Linked DNA regions of Homo sapiens: all the other regions are linked to region 3. The links are contacts of gene promoters, found by promoter capture Hi-C in human tissues and cell types (Jung and others, 2019). All regions are on one chromosome and are shown on one strand. The core of a region is centred on a gene start or on the middle of the fragment in contact, and the rest is flanking DNA. Distances in the headings are between cores, read along the strand shown.

Region 1 (2,819 bases), core at 55-2,554, 330 kb before region 3:
ATGCCCCTCCCCCAGCCTCACTGCTGCCTTGCAGTTTGATCTCAGACTACTGTGCTAGCAGTGAGTGAGGCTCCGTAGGGGTGGGATTCTACGAGCCAGGCACAGGATATAATCTCCTGGTGTGCCGTTTGCTAAGACCCTTGGAAAAGCACAGTATTAGGGTTGGAGTCTCCCATTTTTCCAGGTACCATCTGTCACAGCTTCCCTTTGCTAGGAAAGGGAATTCCCCAACCCCTTGTGCTTCCCGGGTGAGGCGATGCCTCGCCCTGCTCCATGGGCTGCACCCACTGTCTGACAAGCCCCAGTGAGATGAACCCGGTACCTCAGTTGGAAATGCAGAAATCACCCATCTTCTGTGTCGCTCACGCTGGGAGCTGCAGAATGGAGCTGCTCCTATTCGGCCATGTTGGAACCTTCCCCCCAGTATTTTTTAATTTTCTACTATAGTTGTTTATCTAGTTTACAAACATAGTTTCTAAGACAACCATGATTGGAATTATCTGGAAAAATTATAAATATATCTCTATTTACTAAAACACCAGTCTTCCATATTTCCTGATATGGTTTCTATTTCATGAAAGTGAATGAATTTCTAACCATTTTAGTTCAGTTAAAAAAAAAAAGAAACATTACTAACAGTTGGATAAATGTCTGAGAATTTGTTTTAGTGTCAATGTATTTGTAGTATACTTTAAAAAGGGAAAAAAATCTCAAAGTCCATCAGCCACAAAATATAAGAAGGATTTAGAATAAATTAACCAAGTTCAAAGACTCTCAAGAGGGTCTTTAAAATGAAGCTGCCCATGAGACATTACGTTAATCAAGTAATTGAAAGAAAAAGAAACTGAGCCTAAGTGCCTATTTACTGAGATATTTCTGGGTTTAACAAATTTTGAAGATATAAGAAAGTAGGTGTTTAGGTATTTCTGAATTACTCTTCTCATATTTCAACAACTTTCTCACACTGAACTCCAGAATATATGAATTGTTATAAATCATTGTGGCCAAGGTGTCTAGGAAAAAAGCCAGTCTGATTTTACCCTTTTATCTTCATATGACAGATGTTTAGAGGGCAGGAGCTAAAGTCTATCAAGAAAACTGAATGATTGCTGAAATGGTTTGGCTGTGTCCCCCCCCCCAAATCTCATCTGGAATTGTAACTCCCACAATTCCCATGTGTCATGGGAGGAACCCAGTGGAAGGTAACTGAATTATGGAGGCAGGTCTTTCCTGCACTGTTCTTGTGATAATGAAAGAGTCTCATGAGACCTGATGGTTTTAAAAACAGAAGTTTCCAAGTCCAGGACCAGATGGATTCACAGCTGAATTCTACCAGAGGTACAAGGAGGAACTGGTACCATTCCTTCTGAAACTATTCCAATCAACAGAAAAAGACAGAATCCTCCCTAACTCATTTTATGAGGCCAACATCATCCTGATACCAAGGCCTGGCAGAGACACAACAAAAAAAGAGAATTTTAGACCAATATCCCTGATGAACATCGATGCAAAAATCCTTAATAAAATACTGGCAAACCGAATCCAGCAGCACATCCAAAAGCTTATCCACCATGATCAAGTGGGTTTCATCCCTGGTATGTAAGGCTGGTTCAACATACGCAAATCAATAAACGTAATCCAGCATATAAACAGAACCAAAGACAAAAACCACATGATTATCTCAATAGATGCAGAAAAGGCCTTTGACAAAATTCAACAGCCTTCATGCTAAAAACTCTCAATAAATTAGGTATTCATGGGACATATTGCAAAATAATAAGAGCTATTTATGACAAACCCACAGCCAATATCATACTGGATGGGCAAAAACTGGAAGCATTCCCTTTGAAAACTGGCACAAGACAGGGATGCCCTCTCTCACCACTCCTATTCAACACAGTGTTGGAAGTTCTGGCCAGGGCAATCAGGCAAGAGAAAGAAATAAAGGGTATTCAATTAGGAAAAGAGGAAGTCAAATTGTCCCTGTTTGCAGATAACATGATTGTATATTTAGAAAACCTCATCATCTCAGCCCAAAATCTCCTTAAGCTGATAAGCAACTTCAGCAAAGTCTCAGGATACAAAATCAATGTGCAAAAATCACAAGCATTCTTATACACCAACAACAGACAATCAGCCAAATCATGAGTGAACTCCCATTCACAATTGCTTCAAAGAGAATAAAATACCTAGGAATCCAACTTACAAGGGATGTGAAGGACCTCTTCAAGGAGAACTACAAACCACTGCTCAAGGAAGTAAGAGAGGACACAAACAAGTGGAAGAACACTCCATGCTCATGGACAGGAAGAATCAATATTGTGACAATGGCCATACTGCCCAAGGTAATTTATAGATTCAGTGCCATCCCCATCAAGCTACCAATGACTTTCTTCACAGAATTGGAAAAAACTACCTTAAAGTTCATACGGAACAAAAAAGAGCCCACACTGCCAAGACAATCCTAAGCCAAAAGGACAAAGCTGAAGGCATCATGCTACCTGACTTCAAACTATACTACAAGGCTACAGTAACCAAAACAGCATGGTACTGGTACCAAAACAGAGATATAGACCAATGGAACAGAATAGAGCCCTCAGAAATAATGCCACACATCTACAACCATCTGATCTTTGACAAACCTGAGAAAAACAAGCAATGGGGAAAGGATTTCCTATTTAATAAATGGTGCTGGGAAAACTGGCTAGCCATATATGGAAAGCTGAAAGTGGATCCCTTCCTTACACCTTATACAAAAAGTAATTCAAGATGAATTAAAGACTTAAATGTTAGACCTAAAACCATAAAAACCCTAGAAG
Region 2 (2,907 bases), core at 162-2,661, 310 kb after region 3:
CTGTTGAATGATTTCTGCTTAACCTCATTATAACTGATATGATTAAGTCATGAATAATGAATTAATGGTACAGGCTCATTGTTTTTGGAAATTTGTCAAAACAGTCTCAACATATTTAAGCTAAATTATGTTTTGTAGAATATTGAAATGATTGTGCAGTCAAAGAAAATAAATTAGAGAAAATATATTTCTGCTCTTATTTTCAAATTGGATTATTATAGATATAAGTCTAACTTCTGTTTTTTCTTATGCAATGCCTTATTTTTACTGAAATTTTGTATAATTATTTAGGGTCCTCCAGGAGGTGGAGGGCCACCAGGAACACCCATCATGCCTAGTCCAGCAGGTATTGTAATCAAACTAGCCACATGGGCATTTGATTATTAGAATAAAATCACAGAATATAGAAATTGTTCATGAAATAAAGTTAGTAGTATTCATGTTCTCACGATAGTTAAAGGAGTAGAGGCAGCATGGTAGGAAGAAATATAGTGTTCTTAAATAAGTATTATCCAGTTAAGCATTTAGAAAATTCCTATGGTGTGGGTGTCAGATTTAATTAGGATGAACACTGTTGATCTATATGAATTGCCCAAAAATGTGTCTAACTTAAAGATTTATTGAGACTGATAAAACTAACCAAATCTTCTACAATTTAGAAAATTTCTGAATAAATAAAACATTAAATACATGGATTCATTAGGTTTAAAATGCCAAATCAGACTCACCACATCTATTATCTTACTAAGATGAATGAAGGATGAAGAAGTACTTACAGTATTATTTACCCTACATGTCTATAAGTATTTATTAGTCAGCTTATAAATTCACTATGTAATAATAAAAGTTTTTTATCTTCTAAACTAAAACATACTTCAATGTTTTCATAATCCTTTTATATAATTACTTTAAATAGTTTTATCATTTATTTTTGAGACTTTCACACAGACTATTAAATGTGTCTTGGGGTTGTTAACAGTGGAAGACTAAATTGGCGCACCCTTCTTAGAAAATGCTATGATAAAATGTGTCAAGAGCCATGAAAAGGTTCATACCATGTGACTCTATACTTCTAATACTAGAAATGACAGAGATACAACCCAAGATTTATGTAGAAGGATGCTCATTTGTTATACTCAAGAGTAAAACAGTAGACACAAACTCATGCCTAATTCAATTTTAGTGGAATTAGTAAATTAATGTTTAAGGTGTAGGTTAGAATATAATAGAGCCATTATAATTATTATCAAAGAATTTGTAATGACATGGAAAAATAAAATCTCATGATTCAATGCAATATAATCACAGTTTCATTTGAAACCGTAACACAAATCTAGAAAGTAGAAAACAAAGAAATAGGCTAAAACTCTATCAGTTATTACTTTGGGATGATTAAGTAGATGGGAAATTTTAATAATTATAAAGTATTTTTGATTATGATGTTTTACTGTTAAACTCATATGTTTTTAACTGGCTTGTTGAAATTAAGATAGAAGCTTGAAATTCAGTATCATTGATCATACCAATAAAAATTTTTAATTTTGAGCCCTTTCAATTTAGAAAAATCATAAACTTGATAATTAATACAAAATTTTACTTTGCTTCACTAACTCCTTGGATATTTAATGGTCTGTGTCCTGAAGGCATCTTCATTGAAAATGATACAATTCATCGAAGATAGAATTATATCAACTGATCATCTTGCCCATATTTATGTTCTTATATGGTGAAGTTAATGTTTAATTTATGAAGGTAGCATGTGAATAATAAATGCTTCACTGCAAGACTAAAAAAAAGTTTTTGGAGCAACACTGAACATTGCAGGCAATAAGTAATCTTCCTTTCAAACCAGAAATTGCCACAAGTACATCTTCCTAGTCTTTTTGCATACTCTTTTATGTGTTCATCCTGTGTCACAGTCACTCCTCTAATACTCAGCCAGCACCCCACCCACAAGAAAGGAGGTCCCAGGAGATCCACTTTATTGTAAAGTTTTTCTGTACATAGAAGTCAGACATTTTCCAGTAAATACATACATATATATATATATATATATATATATATATATATATATAAAATTTTTTTTTTCTTTGCTGAGACAGAGCCTCTGTCACCCAGGCTGGAGTGCAGTGGCACAATCTCAGCTCGCTGCAAGCTCAGCCTCCTGGATTCAAGCAATTCTCCTGCTGCAGCCTCCCGAGTAGCTGGGATTACAGGAGTGTGCCACCATGCCCGGCTAATTTTTGTATTTTTAGTAGAGACGGGGTTTCACCATGTTGGCAAGGCTGGTCTGGAACTCCTAACCTCAAGTGATTCACCTGCCTTGGCCTCCCAAAGTGCTGGGATTACAGGTGTGAGCCACCTCGCCTGGCCATAAATACCAATCTTATCTCTCTCAAATTTTTTCTGTAGCAGATGAAATTATATTCTTGATTAGTCTTTAAAATGATAAATTTCTTTTCTTTGTGCACATTTAAAATATGTAGCCCATCTTCCTTTTACCAAGAGTAAGGCCAATACAGTTGAAAAACCATTTGAAGATTTCCTATGTTTAAAAAGCAATCCAAGATTTTTTAAAGTTAATCTTGTGTGTGATTGAGTTTATTCCAACAGTTAAATCTAAGTTAGCAGTACTTATTGTCTTTAGTACACAAGATGAGTAAGACACGGTCCTTTCCTTCTCTCCATGAGCTTATTATGTCCTAGTTGGAAGCAGGAGGAACGAATAAAGCAGTAAAGTATTCCTATAATGGAAGGCAGAACTCAGTGGGAGGGGAGCACTCATGCACTTGGAACTGCCAGGAAAAAACCTCATGGAAGACATAACATTTGAGATAGCCCTTCGATAGTGAGTAGAATTTCAGTGCATAGAGATTGAGAAGGTGTTTGGAGGAAGAAAGAACAAAA
Region 3 (2,700 bases), core at 161-2,660:
AACGGTACCTTCCTCCACGCGAATCCGATTTCCCTCTCCTCCCATAGCTACTTCTTGTCTATTCATCCTTTCCAGATGTCGCCCTGTCCCACCCCATCTGTCCCCTTCTTCCCCGTGTGAAGCCCATCTTCTTTCTAACCCCATTTGCACCCGTCTGATTTTACAGTCAAGGACTTCAATAAGATAAATGATGCAGAGTTCTACTGGGAACCAGATTGTGTGTGTTTCTGAAACTTTTGCGCGTTTACTGAAATGGGATTAGGGATTTGGATACAGAAACATTCTCGGGCAGCCTTTCAGCCCTGGCACAGCTTTGTACACCTTGGAGCGCGCTGGGGCCTATTCTAACGGGCAAGGACAGGGAAGTCTTTCAAGACCTTTTCTGGCCTTTTCCACTCCAGGGGTCAGGATGAATAGGCATCACTGACCCAAACTGTTAAACCAGGCCGGGTGGGGAAGCCTGGGGCCCTCTTCTGCGGCAGATCTGGCGGGGTGTCCAGGGCGCCGCGGGGCTCCGTGCAAGAAGGGGTTGGGGCAGGGGCCGCTGCGGCCGCAGGAGTCACCGGGCCTCCTCGGGAGGTCCGCTCACCTCTTACAGAGGAGGCCGACCCCAGGCCGGGTGCTCCCCTGGGGCGCAGGGCGCGGCCCCGGGCGCCGCCACCGCAGCGGCGCCGAGGGCCGGAGGTGCAGCCTTTCCCCAGGAGAGAAGGCGAGTCGCTGTCGGTCGCTCAGCCAGAAGGTCGAGGGAACCGCGCGGGTGTCCCTCGCCAGCCGGCCCTCTGGGAACAGGGCGGGGGCGACACCCCAGGGAGTAGGGCTGAGGACCGCAAAAATCAATCGTGGGTACCGGCGCGGGGTCACGCATAGGAGAGGAGCGGGAGAGGGGCTGGTGGGGGCCCCAGGGCGGCTGAGGCCGTGGCTCTGTCGTGGACTCGGCGGGCGCCCCGAAGTCTGGGGCCGCCACGGCTCCAGCTCCGCCGGCTCCGGCCGGAGACTCCAGGCCGCAGTTTCTCCTCCTCCCGGCGCCTTCTCTCCAGTGAGGAGCTGAGCGCGGGCGGCGCGGGGGGAGGGGTGGCGGCGGAGAGAACAGCCAGTTGTTTAAAATCCTTCTAGAGCAGTTTCTAATTCCCCCCTTGCGCCCGGGTTCGGAGGGGGGAGGGGGAAGGAGAGCGGGTGGAGGGAGGAGAGCGGAGAGGGAAGGCGGGAGGGAGGGAGTCGGGGAGGGAGGGAAGGAGGGAGGAGACTGCCGCTGAGGCTTAGCCGCCACCGCGCGCTTCGGAAGGCCAGAGGGAGGGGGAGGCCTGTCAGTCTCGCGCGTTGCCTGGGCGAAGGGGGCGGAGCTTTGGCGTGGGGCGGCCAATAGTGGGGGTGGCTGCGTGGGTCGCCATGGGGACGGGGCTGTTCCCGGGGAGGCTGTGATGGGTTGACAGGTGCGTGACAGTGGGAGCTGCTCTCGGCACAAGCATGTACGGCAAAGGCAAGAGTAACAGCAGCGCCGTCCCGTCCGACAGCCAGGCCCGGGAGAAGTAAGTGTCTCCGCTTCTCACCCACCTCCGCCTTCACACGCGCGCACACTCACGCACGCACTCGCACACTCTGGGAGACACAGACACTCTCCGCCCGGGGAGCGCCGGGGGTGGGCTGGCAGGGGGAGGGGTGCCGCGATGGGGGCGTGTGGTGCGGGGAGCTGCGCTTTCCCGGGAGGTGCGGGCGCTGGGCGGGCGGCCGCAGGGGGCTGTCGGCGGGAGGGACCGGGTGTGTTGAGGGGCGGCGGTGGTGCTGGTGGCGAGGATGGAAACTTGTTTGGGTGATTGAGGGAAATAACCCGCGGGTTCACCTTCCAAAGTAACTTTAGAGCTGGGGTCCGGGGCTCCGGGGACCTGGGGAGCCGCCGGGGGTGGCGGGAGGGGCAGCTGCGTGGAGGAAGGCGCGCAGTGGGAATGTGGGTGTTTGGCGGGCCGGCCGGGGTCGGGGCCGGGGTCGGGGCGGGCAGCGCGGGGAGCGCGGCGGCGGGGGCCTGGGCGCTGGGGCTTAGGGCCGCGAGCGCGGGGCGAGGCGAGGCGAGGGCGGCGGTGCCGGGCGCGCGGCGGGCGGAAGCCGGGCGTGGAGCGGCCGAGCGGGGCCCCGCGGGGCGCGGAGACGCGCGCGGGGCGCGGAGGGCGTGTGCGGGTTGGGCGTCCGGGCTTTCCTGGGCCAGCTACGGACGCGGCGCCCGCAGTCCCCCGCGCATCGCGGGGCTGGGGCTGGGGCTGGGGCGGGGGCGGGGGCGGGTGGGCGCCGGAGACGCCGCCGAAGTTTGGGAGTCGGAGAGGGACCGAGTTCCCGGGGAGCTAAAGTGTGTTGGCGAGGAGCGGGATCCGCTGGAGGAGGCTGGCGTTTCTGCCTCTCGCAGCGGACCCAACTCCGCGGCGGCGGCTGGCGAACTTTTTGTGAGGCTGGCAGCCCCCGAGCGGCGGGAGGGGCGGGCCCGGCGGGGCGGTGGTCGGGGGCGCGCGGAGGGGAGTTGTGGGAGCCGCCGGGGGCGCCCGAGGAGGGCAGCTGTGGCGGGGAGGGCCAGTGGTCCGAAAAGGGGTTTGTGGGAGGGGAGAAGCGTTCAGGTGGGAAGGAGCCGCTTGGTTACAGTTGTGGGGAGATACAGGTGTTAACTTCGGTGGGAGCCCAAGAGGCGGCTGGCGAGAACAGAGCCCCTCCCGGCCCGGG

Evidence for each region. Contacts are between HindIII fragments. The study calls those that stand out against the background at their distance.
Region 1: a contact is called between a fragment that was not itself captured here and the fragment with the promoter of SSBP2 in region 3, in 1 of the 25 tissues and cell types used here (dorsolateral prefrontal cortex).
Region 2: a fragment that was not itself captured here is called in contact with the fragment with the promoter of SSBP2 in region 3 in 1 of the 25 tissues and cell types used here (dorsolateral prefrontal cortex).

The regions. Positions count from the first base shown.
Region 1 is chr5:82,080,472-82,083,290 of GRCh38, reverse strand. All of the region lies in intron 3 of ATG10 (autophagy related 10), which reads right to left. Among named protein-coding and RNA genes, the nearest start is that of ATG10, 110 kb to the right of the region's middle. The HindIII fragment of the contact is 3,849 bases long and covers 1-2,819 here.
Region 2 is chr5:81,444,307-81,447,213 of GRCh38, reverse strand. It overlaps SSBP2 (single stranded DNA binding protein 2), which reads left to right. Exons shown (of 17, transcript NM_001256732.3): 12 at 292-346. Among named protein-coding and RNA genes, the nearest start is that of ACOT12, 52 kb to the right of the region's middle. The HindIII fragment of the contact is 3,574 bases long and covers 1-2,907 here.
Region 3 is chr5:81,749,807-81,752,506 of GRCh38, reverse strand. SSBP2 (single stranded DNA binding protein 2) reads left to right here and starts at 1,410. Exons shown (of 17, transcript NM_001256732.3): 1 at 1,410-1,526. The coding sequence starts at 1,465. RefSeq lists silencers at 509-858, 1,129-1,458, 1,629-1,678, 2,119-2,168, 2,389-2,548. The HindIII fragment of the contact is 20,998 bases long and covers 1-2,700 here.